Regions from separate parts of the Homo sapiens genome. Here region 2 is linked to region 1. The links are contacts of gene promoters, found by promoter capture Hi-C in blood cells and fetal thymus (Javierre and others, 2016). All regions are on one chromosome and are shown on one strand. Each heading gives the region's core, a stretch centred on a gene start or on the middle of the fragment in contact. The rest is flanking DNA. Distances are from core to core; before and after follow the strand shown. Region 1 holds the start of ZSCAN21 (zinc finger and SCAN domain containing 21). Region 2 overlaps ZKSCAN5 (zinc finger with KRAB and SCAN domains 5).

The links. Contacts are between HindIII fragments. The CHiCAGO score rates a contact against its expected background, and 5 or more counts as called.
Region 2: a fragment that was not itself captured here is called in contact with the fragment with the promoter of ZSCAN21 in region 1 in 5 of 17 cell types (M2 macrophages, erythroblasts, endothelial precursors and 2 more); the score reaches 6.9 in M2 macrophages.

What each region holds. Positions count from the first base shown.
Region 1 is chr7:100,045,873-100,052,509 of GRCh38, forward strand. ZSCAN21 (zinc finger and SCAN domain containing 21) reads left to right here and starts at 3,902. Exons shown (of 4, transcript NM_145914.3): 1 at 3,902-3,969. RefSeq lists an enhancer at 3,804-4,423. The HindIII fragment of the contact is 10,625 bases long and covers 3,039-6,637 here.
Region 2 is chr7:99,527,663-99,534,991 of GRCh38, forward strand. It overlaps ZKSCAN5 (zinc finger with KRAB and SCAN domains 5), which reads left to right. Exons shown (of 7, transcript NM_145102.4): 7 at 3,446-7,038. The coding sequence ends at 4,587. Among named protein-coding and RNA genes, the nearest start is that of FAM200A, 21 kb to the right of the region's middle. The HindIII fragment of the contact is 1,206 bases long and covers 3,736-4,941 here.

The DNA.
Region 1 (6,637 bases), core at 2,652-5,151:
AGTCCCAGCTACCCGGGAGGCTGAGGCAGGAGAATGGTGTGAACCTGGGAGGCGGAGCTTGCAGTGAGCCGAGATCACGCCACTGCACTCCAGCCTGGGCGACAGAGCGAGACTCCGTCTCAAAAAAAAAAAAAAAAGAAATAATTTTTTAGAAAAATAGCCAGGCATGGTAGCATGTGCCTACTCGGGAGGCTGAGGTGGGAGGATCACTTGAGTCCAGGAGTTGGAGGCTGCAGTGAGCTATGATCACACCACTGCACTCCAGCCTGGGCAACAGAGTGAGGCCCTACCGCAAATAAATAAATAAAAATAAAAAATCTCTTGAGACACAGCAAGCACACAGGATTGGAGAATCTGGCTTGTGCTCTCAGCTTTGATACTAATTAGCTAACTAGTGTACCTTGGATCCGACTTCTTCAGGCACTGGTTTCTTCAACTGAAAACAAGAAACAAGAGTTTAACCAGATTGTCCTTAAGGTCTCTTTTGACGTTAATATTTTACAGCAGCTCTAAGCCCCTTTGCTTGAGGAGCATCTCAGCCCTGGAAAGGACAATGGGTTTGGAAATAGATGGATTTTCTTCAAGCCCCAGCATAACCACTTAATGGTTTCATAACTAGACAAAGACCCGTTGACCAAGAGGCTGAATGGAGCCCCACCAAAGCATCGACACAGGTGTGGCTCTTGAAATGTGTGTAGGTTTCCCGGTTCTTCCCTCTGTCCTGGTGATCCTGTTTCCATTTCCCATCTCTTTCTTCCCCGTCTAACTGAGAGGCAGTAGAGCACAGGCTTTGGAGAAAGGGGGCCAAGTTTCACTCCTGATGCTCCCACGTATCAGTTGTGTGATATTGGAAAAGTGACTTTTTGGAGCCTGTTTCCTGGTCTATAAAATGGAGATTTTGGGGCCAGGCACAGTGGCTCACGGTGGCTCCCAGCACTTTGGGAGGCTGAGGCAGGTGGATCACTTGAGGTCACGAGTTCAAGACCATGGGGGAATGAATTAAAAGGACTAACCATGTAACAATTGTTAAAGCTGGCCAATGTATATGGAGGCTTTTTTTTTTTTTTTGGTGAGACAGAGTCTCACTCTGTCACCAGGCTGTAGTGCAGGGGTGCAATCTCAGCTCACTGCAATGTCTGCCTCCTGGGTTCAAGCAATTGTCCTTCCTCAGCCACCCGAGTAGCTGGGATTACAGGCATGTGCCACCACACCCAGCTAATTTTTGTATTTTTAATAGAGACAGAGTTTCACCATGTTGGCCAGGATGGTCTCGATCTCTTGACCTTGTGATCCGCCTGCCTCAGCCTCCTAAAGTGCTGGGATTACAGGCGTGAGCCACCGTGCCCTGCCAAGGCTCATTTTTTTTTTTTTTTAAGAGAAAGCAAGTTTATTAGAGAAGTAAAGAAACAGCCGGGCACGGTGGCTCACACCTGTAATCCCAGCACTTTGGGAGGGCGAGGCGGGCAGATCATGAGGTCAGGAGATCAAGACCATCCTGGCCAACATGGTGAAACCCTGTCTCTACTAAAATACAAAAAAAAATAAAAAATTACCCGAGCGTGGTGGTGCGCGCCTGTAGTCCCAGCTACTCGGGAGGCTGAGGCAGAGGAATCGCTTGAACCTAGGAGGCGGAGGTTGCAGTGAGCCTAGATTGCACCACTGCACTCCAGCCTGGCGACAGAGTAAGACTCCATCTCAAAAAAAAAAAAGAAAGAAACAAAAGAATGCACATGGAGGCTCATTTTCTCTAATTTTGCATGTCTTTAAACATAAAAAATTTTTAAATTATCCTGGAAAATGTCAGGGAAAAATGATATTGAGTATCTATGAATTCATGACGCGTATGGACAGGGAATTCCACGTGCAGGCAGCCATATTGGTGTTCCTCAACACATGTGAGTTTTGCAGGACCAGACAAAAGCAAACTCACAGGGGGCCCGATGGAGTAGTGCTGAGGTGGAAAATACAGACTCTTCAGTCTGGAAACCTGCAGCTGAGCCAGAGCAGCAGGAGGAAAAGGCAGGCAAAGACATCTTCATCGAGTCCTGCAGCATTGGAAGGAGTTCAGCCCCTAGGTCTTCTGCTCAGGAAGTTTAGGACCCACAGAAGGGCAAGGCTACTTCTGATTGATGTCACCATGACCCTGGTCTGCAAAGTTGAGGACTAAACTCTGACTGTTTTCTTCTTTTGCCCAAATTACTATCTAAGGGGCCTGGAGAGTCACCCCCTTCAAACCATAAAGCCTCATCAGACAGGTTTTATTTAACTTTATATAACCTGGCTGACTTTTCAACCAGGCTCTGGCATAACATCACATGGCAGATAAAGAAGGAAACGAAAATATTTCCACCCCAAATATGTTTTTTTGCCATATCTTGAAATAACCCTACCAAGCTGTCTTCTCGTGGGGAAAATCTACACTTGGTAGAGAATCCCCTTCCCTTTCCAGGCCTTTTTCCTGATCCAGGAGAGAATCAACTGGGCGTCTGGCACTTTTTAAAGTCTGATAAGAAATATTTGCAGTCTGTTCTTTCTGAAGCCGGCTGCCTGGAGGCTCCATCTGCATAATGGGAACCCTGGTCTCCACAACCCCTTAGTTCAGCGGTCCCCAACCTTTTTTGGCACCAGGAACCAGTTTTGTGGAAGACAGTTTTTTCCATGGATGGCAGGAGGGGGATGGATGGTTTCGTGGTTTCAGGATGATTCAAGCACATTACATTTATTGTGTACTTTATTTCTATTATTATTACATTGTAATATATCATGAAATAATTGTACAACTCATCATAACATAGAATTAGTGGGAGCCCTGAGTTTGTTTTCCTGTAATTAGAGGGTTCCATTGGGGAATTATGGGAGACAGCGACAGATCATCAGGTATTAGATTCTCATAAAGAGTGCACAACCTAGATCCCTCGCATGCACTGTCCACAATAGGGTTTGTGCTCCTGTAAGAATCTAATGCTATGGCTGATCTGACAGGAGGCGGAGCTCAGGCAGTAATTAGAGCAATGGGGAGTGGCTGTAGATACAGGTGAAGCTTTGCTCCTGCAGCTCACCTCCTGCAGTAACGGCCCAGTTCCTAACAGGCCATGGACTGGTATCTGTCTGTGCCCCAAGGGTTGGGGACCCCTGCCTTAGTCATCCCAGACATTCCTTTCTATTGATTATAGGTCTTTAGACAATAACTTTCAGCCAGTTGCCCATTAGAAGATCCTTGAGTTCACCTATGACTTGGAACATCCCCGCTTGGAATTGTCCTGCCTTTCCCACAGAACCAATGTTCATCTTACATGTCTTGATTGGTGTCTTATGTCTCCCTAAATTGTATAAACCCAAGCTGTAGCCCGACCATCATAGGTACATGTTCTTAGGACCTCTTGAGACTGTACCTTGGGCCATTGGTCACTCATATTTGTCTCAAAATAAATGTCTTCAAATATTTTACAGTTTGATTGTTTTCATCAACGAAGTATTAACTCAATCTCTGGCTTCACGGGCCAAGCACAGCGTTCCATGTCCATAAACCTGGACCGAGGAGCTGGGCCCAAGGGTATCCAGTGACCTCGATCCAGGTTTATGGACAAGGAACCCTGTGCTTATCCCAAGGGTACTCAGGGACCTTGGGCTCTGAAGTCCACGAGGGTGACCGAGGTGGCTGCCTCAGCCCATGCCCTCCCTGCCCCAGGGCGTCGGGGTTGGGTGAGAGAACCGCCGCAGCCTTCATCTGGTCTGACCGTCTTCGGTAAAAACAGAAAGAGTCCCTGGCTTTTCATTTTCGGGGTGGACTCAACTCCTCCCTGATGTCCCAAGGGCCAGAGACACAGAGAGGACCTCCCGAATTTCTAGAGGGGCCGCTACGGCCCCGCACTACTTTTCCGCGGGGGCGGGGCTATGACGCACTTCCGGGTGCGCGGTCCCGAGGTACGCGGTGCGGTCTCCCGGTACCCGGAGCGGCTCTGATTCATGGTGAGCCTGCTGGTCGCGGGTTAGCGAGGCGGACAGGAGAGGGAGCCGTGGCTGAATGGTCTGGGGAGGGAGGAGTGGGTTTAGCAGCTGTGGCTTCCGAGGACCCCACCTAGACCGGTCCTAGCAGGGCTGTGGGGAGGAGCTCCTCGTCCCCGCCCAGGACCAGCTGGTGGGGGCGCTGGCTGCCTGGAAAGCCTTTTCTTCCACTTGGGGCTTTAACAAATGAAAGCTGGAAGAACAGATGTTTTGGAAGTTCTTTCGCGTTCCAGAATAGTTTTTTTTGTGCGTTCCCCAAGCCAAGCCGTCTATCAGTCTGACCGTGGCCGCCTTTTTTCCCTTTCTCTGAACTGGAGGTCCGAACGCAAGGCTCATTGATGGCAATACGCCCAAGGTGTTGGAAACCTGTGGGAAGCCGAACCTCATTAGAAGTGTTGGGTAGAATCAAATCCAAGGGAAGAAATAGTCCCCTCGGGCTTTGTTCGGGCTAGAACACACACACAGAATAGGGATCTGCTCATGGTTTAGAAAAACAGTCTTAAAGAACCATGTATAAATAAAAGAGTGTCAGGACAAAGTTGATTTGGGCCAGGCGCGGTGGCTCACGCCTGTAATCCCAGCAGTTCGGGAGGCCGAGGCCGGCGGATCACTTGAGGTCAGGAGTTCGAGACCAGCCTGGCCAAACCCTGTCCCCACGAAAAATACAAAAATTAGCTGGGTGTGGTGGAGCGCGCCTGTAATCCCAGCTACTCAGGAGGCTGAGGCAGGAGAATCGCTTGAACCCACCAGGTGGAGGTTGCACTGAACCGAGATCACGCCACTGCACTCCAGCCTGGGCGACAGAGCAACACTTGGTCTCACAAAAAAAAAGAACGTTGATTTGATGGGTGAGGTACTTGGAAACCCACGAAATCTAAGGAACAGTTGAGCTGTGGAGAGGAAAAGAATTAAGAGGCAAGATAATTGTTTTCAAGTGTTGGAAGGCTGCTATGGAGAAAGTGAGTATTGGTCTTGGACTAACCTAGGATTTTTGAAATGATGCGGAATTTGATTCAGGTTAAAGAATTTGTGTGGCCGGGCGCGGTGGCTCATGCCTGTAATCCAGCACTTTGGGAGGCCGAGGCGAGTGCATCACCTGAGGTCGGGAGTTCGAGACCAGCCTGACCAACATGGAGAAACCCCGTCTCTACTACAAATACAAAATTAGGCGGGCGTGGTGGCACATGCCTGTAAGGAGGCTGAGGCAGGAGAATCGCTTGAACCTGGGAGGCAGAGGTTGCGGTGAGCCGAGATCGCGCCATTGCACTCCAGCCTGGGAAACAAGAGTGAAACTACGTCTCAAAAAAAAAAAAAAAAAAAAAAAAAGGAAGAACTTGTAACAATTAGTGGAATTCTGTGGCTCAAGAATTATCTAATTTGGCTGCCTAGGGATCTAGGGATTTTCTTTTTTTTTTTTTTTTTTTTTTTTTTTTTGAGATGGAGTCTCGCTCTGTCGCCTAGGTTGGAATGCAGTGGCGCGATCTCGGCTCACTGCAAGCTCCGCCTCCCGGGTTCTAGCCATTCTCCTGCCTCAGCCTCCCAAGTAGCTGGGACTACAGGCGCCCGCCACAACGCCTGGCTAATTTTTTGTATTTTTTAGTAGAGACGGGGTTTCACCGTGTTAGCCAGAATGGTCTCGATCTCCTGACCTCGTGATCTGCCCGCCTCGGGCCTCCCAAAGTGCTGGAATTACAGGTGTGAGCCACGGCGCCGGGCCCCCTAGGGATTTTCAGGTACGGACTGAGTGTGAAGCATTTTAGCACAAGTGGGTAAGTGCTGTTCTACTTTTAGAATCTATGGTAATTTGATTTTTTTATGCCTCATCTTGTTACAGAATGGACTTGGGGCGCTTTCATAAGGGCATATAAGCTGTGGGAGATTGGCATAAAGGAGGAGGGAAAATGGACACAGAACAAGGGCCTTCTGTTTATGATAGACCATGAACTTTTGCTTGATGGACTTCTTGAGATAAACAGTCTAGATAGCTTTTAAAAAGTCACTGTGATTGTAGACAATGTGAGTTAGTAATGAAGCATTTGATTTCTAGCCGCATGCTTCTTTATTTTTTTAAGAGACAGGGTTTTCCTTTGTCACCCAGGCTGGAGCACAGTGGTACAGCCACAACTCTGCAGCCCGGAACTCCTGAGCTCAAGTTATGCCTCAGCCTGGGCAACAAAGCAAGACTTCGTTTCTACAAAAATAAGTAAATCAATAAATAAATTTTTTTTAATTAGCTAGATGTGGTGATGCACACCTGTAGTCCTGGCTACTTTGGAGGCTGAGGTGAGAGGATCGCTTGAGGCCAGGAGTTCAACGCTGCAGTGAGCTGTCATGGCACCACTACACGCCAGCCTGGGCAACAAAGCGAGACCCTGCCTCTGTAATTGAAAAACAATAAAATAAAGACCCAGTGAAGTGGTTCACGCCTGTAACCCCAGAACTTTGAGAGACCAAGGCAAGAAGATGGCTTGAGACTAGGAGTTCAAGACTTCCGTGAGCTGTGATTGTGCCACTGCACTCCAGTCTAGGCAACAGGCTAAGACACTGTCTCTAAAAAATAAAAAAATTAAATTAAAAAAAAAAAGTGAAAGAGGATTCGGGATGACCCCAGGTTTTTCGGTCCAAGTAAAAA
Region 2 (7,329 bases), core at 3,089-5,588, 520 kb before region 1:
CCTGTGACTTTTTCTTTTTTTCTTTTCTTTTCTTTTTTTGAGACGGAGTTTCACTCTTGTTGCCCAGGCTGGAGTGCAATGGCACGATCTCAGCTCACTGCAACCTCTGCCTCCCAGGTTCAAGCGATTCTCGTGCCTCAGCCTCCTGAGTAGCTGAGATTACAGGCATTTGCCACCATACCTGGCTAATTTTTTTTTGTATTTTTAGTAGAGATGGGGTTTCACTATATTGGCCAGGATGGTCTCGAACTCCTGACCTCAAGTGATCCACCCGCCTTGGCCTCCCAAAGTGCTGGGATTATAGGTGTGAGCTACCATGCCGGGCCAGTATTTTTAAACATCTGTTCAAATGACAGTAAATTTATCTGTGAATGAGATCGTCATAAACTGTGCTGTGAACTTAAAGGCCCTTACTAATATTCTTCAGATGATTCTAAGACCAGCCAAAATGTTTTTCTTTTTTTTTTTTTTTTTTTTAATTCTGCCTTTGATGTTTACAGCCACGCTGCATCTTCCACCATGGCACAGAAGTCAGTAAAGTGTCTTTAAAGTTCTGGGTTTGAGCTGAGCTATCCTCTCAGCTAGTGTTTTCCCGTTCTACTCGATGATTCCCTCATTTGGAAAATCCACCAATAGCGCTTTGGACTTGAAAAAGCAATCGCTTTAAAATAGTTATCTTTTGTTTTCTACCTTCCCTGCAATTGTTTCTATGGCTAGTTTCCCAGTGAATACTCACTTGCCTTCCACATTTTTTTTGTGGGGCGGGGGCGTTTTTGTATTTTGAGATAGGGTCTTGCTCTGTCACACAGGCTAGGGTAAAGTAGCGGGATCTCAGCTCACTGCAGCCTCCACTTCCTGGGCTGAACTAATCCTCCCACCTCAGCTTCCTGCATAGCTGGGACTACAAGTGTTCACCACCACACCCAGCTAATTTATGTATTTTTTGTAGAGAAGGGGTCTGGCTCTGTTGCCCAGGCTGGTCTTGAACTTCTAGGCTTAAGCGATCCTCCAGCCTTGGCCTCCACAAGTGCTAGGAGTTACAGGTGTGAGCCACCATGCCCGGTCCTCCCTCATTTTTCTGGATCAAAGGGGGAATACATGTTTTGCACATCCAGCCATATTATTGAGAGTCTGTGTTGCTAGTTGCACAGGATCTGCAGTGACCAGAACAGAGATACAGTCCATGCTCTCATGCAGCCGATGGTCTGGTGGGGGTAGCAGATAGTAAAGGTGATGAGCATTCCCAAAGGAGAAGGATGACATGCCGGGGGAGGAAAACTGAGGCTAGAATGTTGGCTAAGGGTGAAGGGGGCAGGGATTGCTGTATCACCCACCCTCTGACAATGCTTCTTGTTGGCTCATTTTGCCTTATTTCCTGACTCCTAGTCAGATATTCCCTGACTGCATACCCTCTTCATCATCCTTCACTCTCATTCTTCCAGTTTTTGTCAGTTCTCACCACCCAGTTATGTATTTGTTTTTTGTTTTTCTTTTTTGAGATGGAGTCTCACTCTGTCACCCAGGCTGGAGTGCAGTGATGTGATCTCAACTCACTGCAGCTTCTGCCTCCTGGGTTCAGGCGATTCTTCTGCCTCAGCCTCCCGAGTAGCTGGGACTACAGGCACCTACCACGATCCCTTGCTAATTTTTGTATGTTTAGTAGAGATGAGGTTTTACCATGTTGGTCAGGCTGGTCTTGAACTCCTGACCTCAGGTGATCCACCTGCCTCAGCCTCCCAAAGTGCTGGGATTATAGGCACGAGTCACCACACCCAGCCTGCTACATTTTCTTTATCAACTCATTGCTCAACGGGCACTTAGATTGGCTCCATATCTTTGCAGTTGTGAATTGTGCTGCAGAAGACAGGCGCTTACAGTCTTTTTGGTATATTGTCTTTTCCTTTGTGTAGATATACCCAGTTGTGGAATTGCTGGATCAAATGGCAGATCTACTTCTGGTTCTTGAAGAAGTCTCCATACTGTTATCCACAGAAGTTGTATTAATTTATCTCTCACCAGCAATGTATAAGCGTTCCCTTTTCACCACATCCATGCCAACATCTATTGTTTTTTGACTTCTTTGTTTTTTTTGAGATGGAGTCTCGCTGTGTTGCCCAGGCTGGAGTGCAGTGGCGCAATCTTGGCTCACTGCAACCTCTGCCTCTTGGGTTCAAGCAATTCTCTGCCTCAGCCTCTGGAGTAGCTGTGATTACAGGGCACCCACCACCATGCCCAGCTAATTTTTGTATTTTTAGTAGAGATGGGGTTTCACTGTCTTGGTCAGGCTGGTCTTGAATTCCTGACCTCGTGATCCACCCACCTCGGCTTCCCAAAGTTCTGGGATTACAGGCGTGAGCCACCTGCACCCGGCCTTTTTTTTTTTTTTTTTTTGAGATGGAGTCTTGCTGTTGCCCAGGCTGGAGTGCAATGGCGCAGTCTCGGCTCACTGCAACCTCAGCCTCCTGGGTTCAAGCGATTCTCCTGCCTCAGCCTCCTGAGTAGCTGGGATTACAGGCGCCCGCCACCATGCCCAGCTAATTTTTGTATTTTTAGTAGAGATGTGGGTTTCACCATGTTGGCCAGGCTGGTTTCGAACTCCTGACCTCAGGTGATCTGCCCGCCTCGGCCTCCCATAGTGCTGGGATTACAGGTGTGAGCCACCACGCCCGGCCTTTTGACTTCTTAATAATGGCCATTCTTGCAGGAGTAAGGCAGTACCTTATTGTGGCTTTAATTTGCACCTTCCTGATGATTAGTGATGTTCAGCATTTTTTTCATGTTTGTTGGTCATTTGTATATATTATTTTGAGAACTGTCTCCATGTCATTTGCCTACTTTTTGATGGGATTTTTTTTTTCTTGTTGACTTGTTAGAGTTACTTGTAGATTCTGGATATTAGTCCTTTGTCTGATGCATAGTTTGCAAATATTTTCTGCCATCCTGTGGATGAGTCTTGCTCTTTTCGTCAGAAAATTCCAAAAGTTTGTTGTTTACATTCCTGTTGGCATCAAGTACACACACACATCCACCTCTGTTACTCCCGTTACATCATAGTTTCATCTGATGAACATTTTTTATGACAGTTTATTTTTCCTTTATAAAAGAACTGATGGGCCAGGCACGGTGGCTTAAACCTGTAATCCCAGCACTTTGGGAGGCTGAGGCGGGTGGATCACCCAAAGTCAGGAGTTTGAGACCAGCCTGGCCAACATGGCAAAACCCCATCTCTACTAAACATACAAAAATTAGCTGGGTGTGGTCATGCACGCCTGTAGTCTCAGCTACTTGAGAGGCTGAGGCAGGAGAATCACTTGAACCCAGGAGGCAGAGGTTGCAGTGAGCCGAGATCGCATCATTGCACTCTAGCCTGGGCGACAGAGCAAGACCCCATCTCAAAAAAAAAAAAGAACTGATGACATTTTCACTTGCTCTTTATTTTTTTTAGGCAGTGACAAAAGAAGTAAGAACACAAAATTAAGTGTTAAGAAGAAAATTTCAGAATATTCAGAAGCAGACATGGAACTATCTGGAAAAACCCAAAGAAATGTTTCTCAAGTTCAAGATTTTGGAGAAGGCTGTGAGTTTCAAGGCAAGCTGGATAGAAAGCAGGGAATTCCCATGAAAGAGATACTAGGACAACCATCTTCAAAGAGGATGAACTACAGTGAAGTCCCATATGTCCACAAAAAATCCTCCACTGGAGAGAGACCACATAAATGTAACGAGTGTGGGAAAAGCTTCATTCAGAGTGCACATCTTATTCAACATCAAAGAATACACACTGGGGAGAAACCATTCAGGTGTGAGGAATGTGGGAAAAGCTACAACCAACGCGTGCACCTAACTCAGCATCAGCGCGTCCACACAGGTGAGAAGCCCTACACCTGTCCCTTATGTGGGAAAGCCTTCAGAGTGAGGTCCCACCTTGTTCAGCATCAGAGCGTGCACAGTGGGGAGAGACCCTTCAAGTGTAACGAATGTGGGAAAGGCTTTGGGAGGCGTTCCCACCTGGCTGGACATCTTCGACTCCACTCCCGAGAGAAATCCCATCAGTGTCGTGAATGTGGGGAAATCTTTTTTCAGTACGTTAGCCTAATTGAACATCAGGTGCTCCACATGGGTCAGAAAAATGAAAAAAATGGCATCTGTGAGGAAGCATATAGTTGGAACTTGACAGTGATTGAAGACAAGAAGATTGAGTTACAAGAGCAGCCTTATCAGTGTGATATCTGTGGAAAAGCCTTTGGTTATAGCTCAGACCTCATTCAGCATTACAGAACTCATACAGCAGAGAAGCCCTATCAATGTGATATATGTAGAGAAAATGTTGGCCAGTGTTCCCACACCAAACAACATCAAAAAATCTACTCCAGCACAAAATCCCATCAATGTCATGAATGTGGCAGAGGCTTCACTCTGAAGTCACATCTTAATCAACATCAGAGAATCCATACTGGTGAGAAACCTTTTCAATGTAAAGAATGTGGAATGAATTTCAGCTGGAGTTGTAGCCTCTTTAAACACCTGAGAAGCCATGAGAGGACAGATCCCATAAATACCTTAAGTGTAGAGGGGTCTCTGTTGTAGAATAGCTCTTAATTTTAGAGAAACCTTCCTGGAGGGAAACCATACTCCTATAATGAGCAAAGTAACAACTTCAAGCATTTTTCCAGCGTTACCATCAAACTCACAAATAGGTTGAAATCCTTTAGTTATAACTCAGCCTTTAGGAACACCGGAGAACCCACAATAATAGAAATCTTTTCGTGTTCCCCATTGAGAAATGCTTTAGTTAGCATCTTCATGCTTGGAAATCTAGACAAGAAGAGAATCCATGGATGGACATGGTCGAGGAATTCGGAAAGCCTGCAGTTGACATTCAGTCTTCACTTGAAACTCAAAACTGACACTAGGAACAGCTTCATGAGTTCAGTAGAAGTAAGCTTTATTTGTAGCTTCTGCCTTGTTTGACGGCGTATCTATTCAGGGAAGCGCACAGTAAAAGAATTCCTTAGCATGATGTCTGTTTTGGTACCTCAGCAATGAACCTTTTCTAGAAATTATTATTCCAACCACTAGAATACCCTAGTCACTATTCCCACTTTGAGCATTAACCCCTTTGAAAAGAAATGGACTTAAAGTATCTCTGTTTTGGCAAAATTCAGGTTCAGGGGCTGGATGGTATGTGTTTCTGCTGCCTTATTCAATCCACCACTTCTCTGTGAAACACTCTACCTTGTTTTTGGTTTGATTCTACTGATGTCAGGGTTTAGCCGGTAGAAGGAGTAGTTCAGTTTGTCAATTCAGGAGAAACTGTACTGGTCAGTCACATCTTACGGCGAAGGGAGAGGGACCTTAGGGGAGCAGAGAAGACAGGCAAAGTTGTGGACTGTTTGATCTTGTATTACCCACAGGAATGAGGGCAGCTAAACCCATAGAAGGAGTTGGACCAAGGCGAATTACGAGTCCTGGTCCCAGCAGTATGTGTGCTGACTTCTGGGTGCCCCAGAAATAGACCTCTCCTGTAGAGTGGTGATATACAGAATGAGTTTCAGTTTGCATTGCAGCTGGGATTGAAAGTAATCAGTCGTGAGCAGGCAGGCAGGAGGTCCTGTTAGCCCTGCCTTCCAGGAAGGTTGGGGTGGGAGTTTTGAGTGGGAAAGAGGATGACATGTGTGAGAGAGTTCTGAGCCTGTTTGCTAGGGAGAGTGAGTGAGTGCTCTTGGGCACTGCTCAGGCCGTTTCTGCTGACTTGCCTGGCTTACAATAAATGCCCAATAAATATTTGTTGACCATATGTGTTGTACACTGTGGTGCCCTGTCCAGTCCCCTCTACCAAGCTGAGACCCCCATCCCCAGCTGCTCTGAGTTTGGGCTGCAAGTGCTCACAGCTCTTGTTCTCCAGAAACTGGAGAATTGCCCTCAGGAGATGAGAGCCATCTCACCTCACCCAGGAGTCACTTCCTCTCTACACCCCAACACCTGGTTCATTTGATTAAAGCGGAGAAAACTCCAGGGTGCTATGACTGCTCTGGCACCCTTGGATCAGGCCAAGCTAGACTTTTTCTGAGCCTTCATCCGTGCTAAGCTCTCTCCCTTCTCTATCCTGTTTCATTCCCTCCCTCAAAGGCGTTTCCCAAATAAATCACACTGTCAATCACATGGTTCTGAATCCCTGTCTCAGGCTCTGCTTTAGAGAACCTGATCTAAGACATTTGGTGCCACAAGTGGTCATAGGAAGCTGCTGTGAGAGTGGATTGTGGAGTTGGTCACTCGCCAGGAGGGAGTGAAGACCCGCATCACTGTTAATAGTCCTGGCATGTGGTACCTGTCCAGTCACTAAGTCATTCACTTGTGGGGAACTGGGATGAGATACAGGTGGAAAGCGATCTATTGACTTGTAGAGGTTTGGGACAAACAGGAAAATAAAGATTATGGAATTGGGTGGCTCTTGCTGAAAGTCACTGAATCCTTGAAGAGAAGAAAATGACAGGGCAAATAACCACCAATTTAATGCCAAGTGTGTGTCAGAGGACCTTCTTGGTAGCTTTTTAATTTTTTTATAGACAGGGTCTTGCTCTGCTGCCCAGGCTAGAGTGCAGTGGTGCAATCACAGCTCACTGCAGCCTTGACCTCCCGGGCTCAAGTGGTCTAGCCACCTCAGCCTCCTGAATAGCTGGGACTACAGGCACATGCCACCATGAGTGGCTAATTTTTAAAAAACATACTTTAGCTGGGCGCGGTGGCTCATGCCTATAAACCCAGCACTTTGGGAGGCTGAGGCGGGCAGATCACGAGGTCAAGAGATCGAAACCATCCTGGCCAACCAACATGGTGAAACCCGGTCTCTACTTAAAATACAAAAATTAGCTGGGCATAGTGGCGCATGCCTATAGTCCCAGCTACTCCAGAGGCTGAGGCAGGAGAATCGCTTGAACCCGGGAGGCAGAGGTTGCAGTGAGCTGAGATCACGCCACTGCACTCTAGCCCAGTTGACAGAGCGACAGTGTCTAAAAAAAAAAAAAAAAAAAAAAAAAACATTTTTTGGAGAGATGGTATCTCCCTATGCTGCCCAGAGTGGTCTCGAACTCCTGGGCTCAAGTGATCCTCCAGCCTTGGCCTCCCAAATGTTGGGATTACAGGCATGAGCTACTGCACCTGGCCTTGGAGTGATTCTTGAAAGCTTAGAAAAGTCAGTGGCCCACATTAAATGACGTAGAGATGACAAAACCATGGCAGACTTAACAAAGGGATCCAAAGATTCATACATACACAAACTAGGATGGAACTAGAAGATAAGACCAAGCAACCCACCTTCAGTTATGTTCC